2 separate regions of the Homo sapiens genome follow, and region 2 is linked to region 1. Evidence: promoter capture Hi-C in 16 types of primary human blood cells and fetal thymus (Javierre and others, 2016). All regions are on one chromosome and are shown on one strand. Each heading gives the region's core, a stretch centred on a gene start or on the middle of the fragment in contact. The rest is flanking DNA. Distances are from core to core; before and after follow the strand shown.

Region 1 (4,928 bases), core at 795-3,294:
CTAATAAAGAAACATGGTAGGCCGGGCGTGGTGGCTCACGCCTGTAATCCCAGCACTTTGGGAGGCCGAGGCGAGCGGATCACGAGGTCAAGAGATCAAGACCATCCTGGCTAACATGGTGAAACCCTGTCTCTACTAAAAAATACAAAAAATTAGCCGGGCGTGGTGGCGGGTGCCTGTAGTCCCAGCTACTCGGGAGGCCGAGGCAGGAGAATGGCGTGAACCCAGGAGGTGGAGGTTCCAGTGAGCCGAGATCGCACCACTGCACTCCAGCCTGGGCGACAGAGCGAGACTCCGTCTCAAAAAAACAAACAAAAAAAAGAAACGCAGTAGTGAGCATGTAAGTGAATAAATCCCAGGATTATAGCTGTCCTGTCTCCCACCCCATGGAACCCTAGAAAGCCAGCTCTTCACACCCTTCTCTGGTCTTGGTCACCAGTTCTCAGCCTGAACTCCTATAGGGGAGGTCCCCAGCCCAAGGACCCACTTAGAACAAAGGCAGCAGTAACGGGTGTTAATGCTGCTGCCCAGCCCTTGACCTCACAAGTCAGGCTTTGGCCTCCCTCCGTCTGTGATGCTCACCCTGTTATCCTTCTGGCTCTTCAGCCCCCTCATCCTCATCCCTAGACCGTGGGAGGGATGAGGAACGGGAGGCACTGGCTGCAGTTGCTGCTCCCGGACTCTGACTCTGCGCTTTCCTGTTTTGTTTTGTTTTTTGAGATGGAGTTTCACTTTTGTTGCCCAGGCTGGAGTGTAATGGTGCGATCTCGGCTCACTGCAACCTCCACCTCTCAGGTTCAAGTGATTCTTGTGCCTCAGCCTCCCGAGTAACTGGGATTATAGGCGCCCGCCACCATGCCCAGCTGCTTTTTTGTATTTTTAGTAGAGACAGGGTTTCACCATGTTGGCCAGGCTGGTCTCCAACTCCTGACCTCAGGTGATCCACCCGCCTCGGCCTCCCAAAGTGCTGGGATTACAAGCGTGAGCCACCGTGCCTGGCCTGGTTTTGTTTTTTTGACACAGGATCTTGGACCCACGCTGGAGTGCAGAGGCATGATCATAGCTCACTGCAGCCTTAATCTTCCAGGCTCAAGCAATCCCACTGGCCTCAGCCTCCCCAGTAGCTGGGACTACAGGAGAGCACCACCATGCTTGGCTAACTTTTTTTTTTTTAAGTAGAGATGAAGCCTTGCTCAGTTGTCCAAGTTTGTCTCCAACTCCTGAGCTCAAATGATTCTCCTACCTTGGCCTCCCAAAGTGATGAGATTACAGGCATGAGCCATTATGCCCGGCCTGCTTTCCTGTTTAAAACTCATGATGATCAATTGTTCAGTCAACAAACACCTAGCGAGCCTGACTCATGCCTAGCCCTATCCTGGGAACCGAGGACACCGAGGACACAAGCGAACTGAACACTTCTGGTGTGGTTGGAGGCAGATGCCCAATGGGCACAGGTGCAGCTGGGCTGAAGGGGCTGCAAAGCTTCTACCAGAGGTTGGGGAAGCAGGGAAGGCTTCTTGAAAGAGGCGGCCATTGAGCTGACTGAGCTTCATAGGATGAGCAAGAGTGGTTCCCTTGGCTGGGCGCAGTGGCTCATGCCTGTTATCCCAGCACTTTGGGAGGCTGAGGCAGGTGGATCACCTGAGGTCAGGAGTTGGAGACCAGCCTGACCAACATGGTGAAATGCTGTCTCTACTGAAAATACAAAAAATTCGCTGGGCATGGTGGTGCATGCCTGTAGTCCCAGCTAGTCGGGAGGCTGAGGCAGGAGAATTGCTTGAACCCGGGAGGTGGAGGTTGCAGTGAGCCGAGATCATGCCACTGCACTCCAACCTGGGTGGAAAAAAAAAAGAAAGAAAGAAAGAAAGAAAAAGGGGTGGGATGGGGAGCAGACAGGCAGGGACTGAAAGCCTGAAGGCCTGAGCAACTTGTGGGTTCTAGGGGTCCACCCTCCACCCACCAAGCCTGTCTTCCCCTTCGTGGTTTCTCCAGCCCCACCCTCACACCGTCCTCCTCGATCTGCGCGGCTTCCTGCCTCCATGCCACTCCAGACTGCACCGGCATGGCACTGACTGCCCACCCCTCCTGCCTCCTGGCCCTGTTGGTGGCAGGCCTAGCCCAAGGCATCAGAGGCCCCCTTAGGGCCCAGGTAAGTGCTCCCAAACCCTTACCTATGCCAGTCCCACGCCTGGGGTCACCCCTTCAGAAACAGCTGGCCTGTCATTCTCATTTTTCAGAGGGAGTTGCTGAGGCTGGAGAGGGGGCTGACGTGCCCAAGGGCACATGGGAAGACAGAAAAGGCTAACTGGCTGACCCCTAGCCCAGTCCTTGCACGGCTGGGAACTAAGGTGGGGCCCCAGCAATGATTCCTCTGCCCACTGCCCCTCTCCACCCTTGGTTCCTTGCCAGGACCTAGGTCCCCAGCCGCTAGAGCTGAAAGAGGCCTTCAAGTTGTTCCAGATCCAGTTCAACCGGAGTTACCTGAGCCCAGAAGGTATCACAGGGCACATACATCTCCAGTCCAAGCCCCCACTTTTTTTTTTTTTGAGACGGAGTTTCACTCTTGTTGACCAGGCTGGAGTGCAATGGTGTCATCTTGGCTCACTGCAACCTCCACCTCCCGGGTTCAAGCGATTCTCCTGCTTCAGCCTCTGAGTAGCTGGGATTACAGGCATGCGCCACCACACTTGGCTAACCTTTACATTTTTAGTAGAGATGGGGTTTGACCATGTTGGCCAGGCTGGTCTTGAACTCCTGACATCAGGTGATCCGCCTGCCTCGGCCTCCCAAAGGGCTGGGATTACAGGTGTAAGCCACGGAGCCCAGCCATCCCGCTTTGTAATAGATGAAGAAATCGAAGCTCAGGGTGGGGAACAGGCATGGCCAAGGCCACTCAGCAGGACAGGCCAGGGCTGGGGGTGTGTTCCCTGGTTTCCCGAAGGCATGAGTGGGTCCAGGATCATTCTTTGCTATGGATCTGGAGGGCAGTGGCAGGAGGTGGGGTCCTGCCCTAGTCCTACGTGATCCCCTGGCTCCACAGCCACTTCCCTGCGATTCTAGGCAGTGGACAGGGGGCCACCACCTAGTCATTTGCTCATTCAGCAAACACCCAAGGACACCCATTTTGTCCCCACATTGGGGACTTCTTCTCTAGCCCATGATCTAACCCCTGCCCCTGCCCTCTCGCTGTGCTGATCTCTCTAGGGGGCTGATCTGTGTGTGCCTTTTAGCCCAGACTGCCTGTGCCTTGTCATCTCCTCTCCCTGCCATGTTCCAGCTCTCCTCCTGTGGTCAGAGGTGTAAAGGACGTGGCCTGGCAGGAAGCTGGTCTCCAGCCACACATCCTTGAGTCACCACCACCGGACCCCTTGCCTGGCTTCCCACCTAGGGTGGCCAGAGATGGTCCTCTGGCTGCCTCTGGGGAAAACCCAACCCTCGGTGGGCTGGGTAACCACTTCCTGGGCCTGGGTATCTGCAGTGGGGCCTTGTGGGGGCTACAGGAAAGGAGCCAGTGCTCAACTGGGTGGGTGTGGGTGGAAGGGTGCCCAGCCAGCGGCTACTTCCTGCCCCTAAGGGCTTGGGAGTCAGCCTAGGACAACTCCCTTTTGGTCCAGAGCATGCTCACCGCCTGGACATCTTTGCCCACAACCTGGCCCAGGCTCAGAGGCTGCAGGAGGAGGACTTGGGCACAGCTGAGTTTGGGGTGACTCCATTCAGTGACCTCACAGGTACCATTAACCCTTCTGGCTCGTAGGTGGTGGTTGGGAAGCGATCTCCCCAGGGACACTGGCAGCTGGACCCAGCGGACCTTCAATTTTTACTTCCCAGGGAAGGAAATTCATTTCCCTGAGGACCAGGGGCTTGGGTGCTGGTATCAAATCACCCAGTGCAGGGGCAGAATCTCTGCAGTCCTGTGTCCTAATCCAGCCTAGGGGCCAGCGCAGCAGCTGCAGGGAAGCACCCAGCAGGGAGCCCAGCCTCTCTAGGCTTGGCACCCTTGCCTTTTTGAGACAGGGTCTTGCTCTGTTGTCCAGGCTGCAGTACAATAGTGCAATCACAGCTCACTCAGCCTCCACCTCCTAGACTCAAGCAATTCCCCCGACCCCTCAGCCTTCTAAGTAGCTGGGGCTACAAGCCCGCACAACCACGCCCAGCTAATTTTTCTACTTTTTGTGGAGATGGGGTCTCGGACTCCTGACCTCAAGTGATCCACCCACCTTGGCCTCCCAAAGTGCTGGGATTATAGGTGTGAGCCACCACGCCCGGCCTATCCTTGCCTTTTTGCCCCTCAGGGAATTATGGGACCAACAGCTGGAGTGGGAGAGGCAGAACAGGGAGAAGGGGTCAAAATGGAGACCTCAGTGGCCCTGTCTGTTCCCCAGAGGAGGAGTTTGGCCAGCTCTATGGCTATCGGAGGGCAGCTGGAGGGGTCCCCAGCATGGGCAGAGAAATAAGGTCTGAAGAGCCAGAGGAGTCAGTACCTTTCAGCTGTGACTGGCGGAAGGTGGCCAGCGCCATCTCACCCATCAAGGACCAGGTATCTGCCGCTACCCAGCTGGCTCTAATTCAGCTAAGTGGTGGGAGGGAGAGGGGCACGGCCCGAACACCTAGCCCCGCCCCACCCTCTCGCCCTCCAGAAAAACTGCAACTGCTGCTGGGCCATGGCAGCGGCAGGCAACATAGAGACCCTGTGGCGCATCAGTTTCTGGGATTTTGTGGATGTCTCCGTGCAGGGTAGGGTTGGGAGAGGGTGCGCGTGTGACAGGGGAGGGAGGCCTAGGGGCCTGGTCACCCACACTGTCCCTTCTTGCACCAGAACTGCTGGACTGTGGCCGCTGTGGGGATGGCTGCCACGGTGGCTTCGTCTGGGACGCGTTCATAACTGTCCTCAACAACAGTGAGTGCACTGCCCCGCCACTCTGGACATC
Region 2 (4,928 bases), core at 800-3,299, 110 kb after region 1:
CAGGATAAACCCAGAGGGATTGGTTTGTTTCCCATTGGTTATGAGAAAAAAACAAAAACAAACAAAAACAAAGGGAGTATAAGTGGGAAATACGGTAAGAGCAGCAATTAATGAAATACCAATACAAAGAATGACAACAAAAAGCTGGTGCTTAGAAAAGACTAATAATGACCTTCTGCCAAGATTGACCAGCTATAACAGAGAGAAGGCACAAATAAACAATATTACATGTAAAAAGGGGGACATAACTTTGGATACAGCCAAGATTACAAACATAAGGCAATCATACAAATAACTTTGCGCCAGTAAGTTTGAAGCCATAGCAAACATGAGAAAATATGGGGGCTGGGTGTGGTGGCTCACGCCTGTAACCCCAGCAATTTGGGAGGCTGCGGTGGGCAGATCACCTGAGATCGGGAGTTTGAGACCAGCCTGGCCAACATGGTGAAACCCCATCTCTACTAAAAATACAAAAATTAGCCGGCCATGGTGGCACATACCTGTAATCCCAGCTATTCGGGAGGCTGAGGCAGGAGAATCACTTGAACCCGGGAGGCGGAGGTTGCAGTGAGCCGAGATGGGGCCACTGCACTCCAGCCTGGGCGACAGAGCAAGATCCTGTCTCAAAAATAAATAAATAAATAAATAACATGAAAATATTTTTCCTTGAAAATATGACTGAAGAACAGAACACCTGAGTAATCTATTACCACTGACAATCTAATTCCAAACCTACCTACCCACCCACCCAAAAAATCGCCAGGCATGGTTGGTTTTACAGCAAGCTTTACCAAAAATTGTAGAAATGCAAAATTCCAATCTTATACAAACTCTCGTAATGAAAATAAAGGGAAAACACTTTCCAACTTATTTATATGAAGCTGGTATAACCTTGATACAAAACAAAGGGTGGGGGCAGTACGGAAAAGGAAAACCTTAAACCATTTCACCTATACACCTGGATGCCAAAATACCAGAGAACCAAATCCGGCAGTATAATAACAAATCCATTGTGACTGTCTTCTTCCAGGAATGCAAGGATATCTTAACGTGAGAGAATGTTATGATACTCCACCACATTTACAGATTAGAAGAGGAAAACCATGTGGTGAGCTCAGACTGCCATCTGTGCTCCCTGGCACACACACAGGGGTGGCTGGGTGGCAAGGGGGGAAAGCGCACTGGGCCACACGGGGAAGCCCTGGTGGAAATGACCTGGCTGTAGAGGTTAGTCCTGAAGTGACAGAGGTACAGATTCTGAAGGGCCACAAAGTCTCAAGCATAACTGCAAGAGAAGCCAGTAAGTACTATTAGGCAGCCAGTCACAGGGACTGGCCATGACATCGGGACAAGGGGCTCTTACATCAGATCTCAGCTCACTCAGGGAGATCTATTCATACATGGTTGGATCCCACCATTCAGTTGGAAGAACAGAGGTGGAATCCAGCTTCAGAGAATGACATAGGAAAGTAGCATGCAGAATACAAGGACCCTACCTCCATCAGTACCCTTAGCTACAGCCCACAGAAGCTGAATGGCTGGTAAGAGATGAAGAAGTGGAAACGAAAAGGTTTTAGGGGGAAAAAAAGATGTTACTAGGTGGATCACAGTATCACTGAGAGAATGGAGAAGAACATAAGACCAAGTTTACAGATAAAACGCCAAAACACACACACACAAAGTGGGGAACAGTCAAAGGACTATTTAGAAGAAAACATATAGCCCTGAATATATTAGAAAACAAATTGAAATTAAATTAGCTAAGCACACATCTCAAGAACCCAGAATGAGCAAATAAACCCAAAGAAACGAAGGAAAAGTCCAGTAAGGAAGACCTCTTGCAAAGCTAGCCAAATAAAATACACAAAATATAAACATATTTTGTTGATTTCACCTGCCCTCACCCCTTGCCCCACTTTTTCTGGTAATAGAACCTCTCTATTCCATGGGAAACATATAAAAATTACTTGTGGCTCATCCTGCCCCACCCCAGTCCTCCACACCCTCCCACCCCCCGGCCCTGGCCACAGTGACTGCTCAAGCACAGCAAGTGACCTGAGGAAGATCAATCGCCCTTCACGGAAATACAGGGATCCTCAAGAGCCCCAAGGGGCTCTGTCTACAAGGACTGTGTATAAACTTGAGCGTCCTGGCTGGGCGCAGTGGCTCATGCCTGTAATCCCAGCACTCTGGGAGGCCGACGCAGGCGGATCACGAGGTCAGGAGATCGAGACCATCCTGGCTAACACGGTGAAACCCTGTCTCTACTAAAAATACAAAAAATTAGCCGGGCGTGGTGGCGGGCGCCTGTAGTCCCAGCTACTCAGGAGGCTGAGGCAAGAGAATGGCGTGAACCCCGGGGGGCGGAGCCTGCAGTGAGCCGAGATCGCGCCATTGCACTCCAGCCTGGGCAACAGCGAGACTCCGTCTCAAAAAAAAAAAAAAAAAAAAAACTTGAGCTTTCTACAGAAAACATCTGTAGGAGGGAAAGAAATTAATCAGCCGGGAGCAGAGATGACAGAGATAAATGAGAGAGCCTGAGGAATTCATGCTGCTGGCATTGGTTCATCCCTGCCCGATGCGCACCACTCAGAGACCTCAGGTCAATGAGCCTTGCTTACTTCTCCTAATTTGAGTTCAATTTTGTCATTTATAAGAAAGTCCCGCATACGCCAGGATGGTGGCTCTCACCTGTAATCCCAGTACTTTGAGAGGCCAGGGCAGGAGCATCACTTGAGCCTGGGAGTTCGAGACTAGCCTGGGCAACATAGGGAGAGCCTGTCTCTACTAAAAATAAAAAAAATTAGCCAGGTGTGGTGGCGCGCACATGTGGTTCCAGCTACTCAGGAGGCTGAGGTGGGAGAATCACTTGGGCCTGGGAGGTCAAGGCTGCAGTGGCGCCATGATGGCCTGGGCAACAGAGTGAGAGGCTGTCTCAAAAAAAAAAAAAAAATTACTGGGTGCAGTGGCTCACCCTTGTAATCCCAGCACTTTGTGAGGCTGAGGGGGGCCAATCACCTGAGGTCAGGACTTTGAGACCAGCCTGGTCAACATGGCAAAACCCCATCTCTACTAAAAATACAAAAATTAGCTGGGTGTGGTGGCGGGTGCCTGTAATTCCAGCTACTTGGGAGGCTGAGGCAGGAGAATCACTTGAACCCGGGAGGTGGAGGTTACAGTGAGCCGATACTGCACCACTGCACTCAAGCCTGGGCGACACAGTGAAACTCTGCCTCAAAAACAAAACAAAAACAAACAAACAAAAAAAGAAAGTTCCAAATAATACAAATATTATGCATGAACTTTTGCCCAAAAAGCTTAAATATATATGAAATATGATCCTGGAATGATACAAATGATCAAAATTGACTCAAGGATAGAAAACTTTAGACAGAACACAACTGAATAAACTAAAAGGCAGTGAAAGATCCACCCCTGAAAAAGGTACCCAGCACAGATGTTTTTGTAAACAAGTTCACAACGTTGAAGAAACAAATGCCTGGCCTATAAAGTATTCAAGCCTGAAGAAAAAGACGTCTCCAAACCCATTTGCAAGGCTAGCATAAAGCTAATCTCGAAATAGAACAGGAAGGTCATTTTTTAAAAAGAGGGAGGGGATTGGCCCAGGGAGAGAGATAAAACTCCTAAGTAAATACATAATATACTGTAAAACTAAGCAAGGTTTATATCAGAAAGTAAGGTGTGTCCAACATTAGGAAACCTATTACTGTAACTCAGTACAATCATACAATAAAATCTTTTGATTTTCTCCATAGATGTCAACATTCATCACTGTTAAACAAAAGCGAAGGAGAAAAAAAAAACAGTAAGATGGAACAAAGAAAACATCTTCAGTCTAATGAAGATCATCTACCGGAAGCCCAGAGCAAGCGTCCTACCTCAGGACGCAACGTGAGAACCATTCCCACTGAGAAAACATCAATCAAGGGTGCCATGCAACCACGGTGGAGGTCCTGGCCTCTGAGATTCACAAGAAATAGACATGAGTGTAAAGGAGGAGATAAAACTGTCATTAGTGGGATACGATTTGGCTATCTATAAAGCCACAAGATCAACTGAAGAACTGCGCATTCGACAAGGTGGGCAACACAAAGATGGACACACAGGTGGATGCCAGGGATGGGGAAAGGTGATTTCCACAGATCCTTCACTACCAGTAACTAGGACTTTCATAAAACTCCTAAGACTAAACCAAATTGGAAGTAAAGGCCCATTTGAAGACCACACCACCTTACCAAAGAACATACCTCATTTCTGGACAGGAAGATGAAAAACTGTTAATTTTTCTACAATATTTATTTAAACAAAACTAAAAATAAACTGTTAAGATACCACTTCTTGGGTGGACATAGTGGCTCACGCCTGGAATCCCAGCCCTCTGGGAGGCTGAGGCGGGAGGATGGCTTGCCCAGGAGTTTGAGACCAGCCTGGGCAACATAATAAGACTGGCTCTACAAAAAAAAAAAAAAAAAAAAATAGAAAAAGAAAAATTAGCCCGATGTGGTGGTGCACACCTGTGGTCCCAGCTACGCAGTAGGCTGAGGTAGAAGGATCGCTTGAGCCCAGGAGGTGGAGGCTGCAATGAGCCATGATTGCATCACTGTGTTCCAGCCTGGGTGACAGGAGTGAAACCCTGTCTCAAAAAAATAAAAGTTGAAACTCCGTCTCTACTAAAAATACAAAAATTAGCCGGGTGTAGTGGCAAGTGTCTGTAGTCCCAGCTATGGAGAGGCTGAGGCAGGAGAATCGCTTGAACCTGGGAGGCGGAGGTTACAGCGAGCTGAGATCACGCCACTGCACTCCAGCCTGGGTGACAAAGCAAGACTGTCTCAAAAAAAAAAAAAATGCAGTATGGGCACACGGATCAATAGGACAGATTAGAAATTCCAAAAAAGATCCATATATAT

Evidence for each region. The method cuts DNA at HindIII sites, captures the fragments that hold promoters and counts their contacts. A CHiCAGO score of 5 or more calls a contact.
Region 2: a fragment that was not itself captured here is called in contact with the fragment with the promoter of CTSW in region 1 in 16 of 17 cell types (erythroblasts, naive CD4 T cells, naive B cells and 13 more); the score reaches 14.9 in erythroblasts.

What each region holds. Positions count from the first base shown.
Region 1 is chr11:65,877,793-65,882,720 of GRCh38, forward strand. CTSW (cathepsin W) reads left to right here and starts at 2,045. Exons shown (of 10, transcript NM_001335.4): 1 at 2,045-2,149; 2 at 2,410-2,494; 3 at 3,615-3,728; 4 at 4,383-4,537; 5 at 4,638-4,734; 6 at 4,817-4,897. The coding sequence starts at 2,063. The HindIII fragment of the contact is 11,122 bases long and covers 1,481-4,928 here.
Region 2 is chr11:65,991,153-65,996,080 of GRCh38, forward strand. No RefSeq gene overlaps it. Among named protein-coding and RNA genes, the nearest start is that of EIF1AD, 8.5 kb to the right of the region's middle. The HindIII fragment of the contact is 2,532 bases long and covers 784-3,315 here.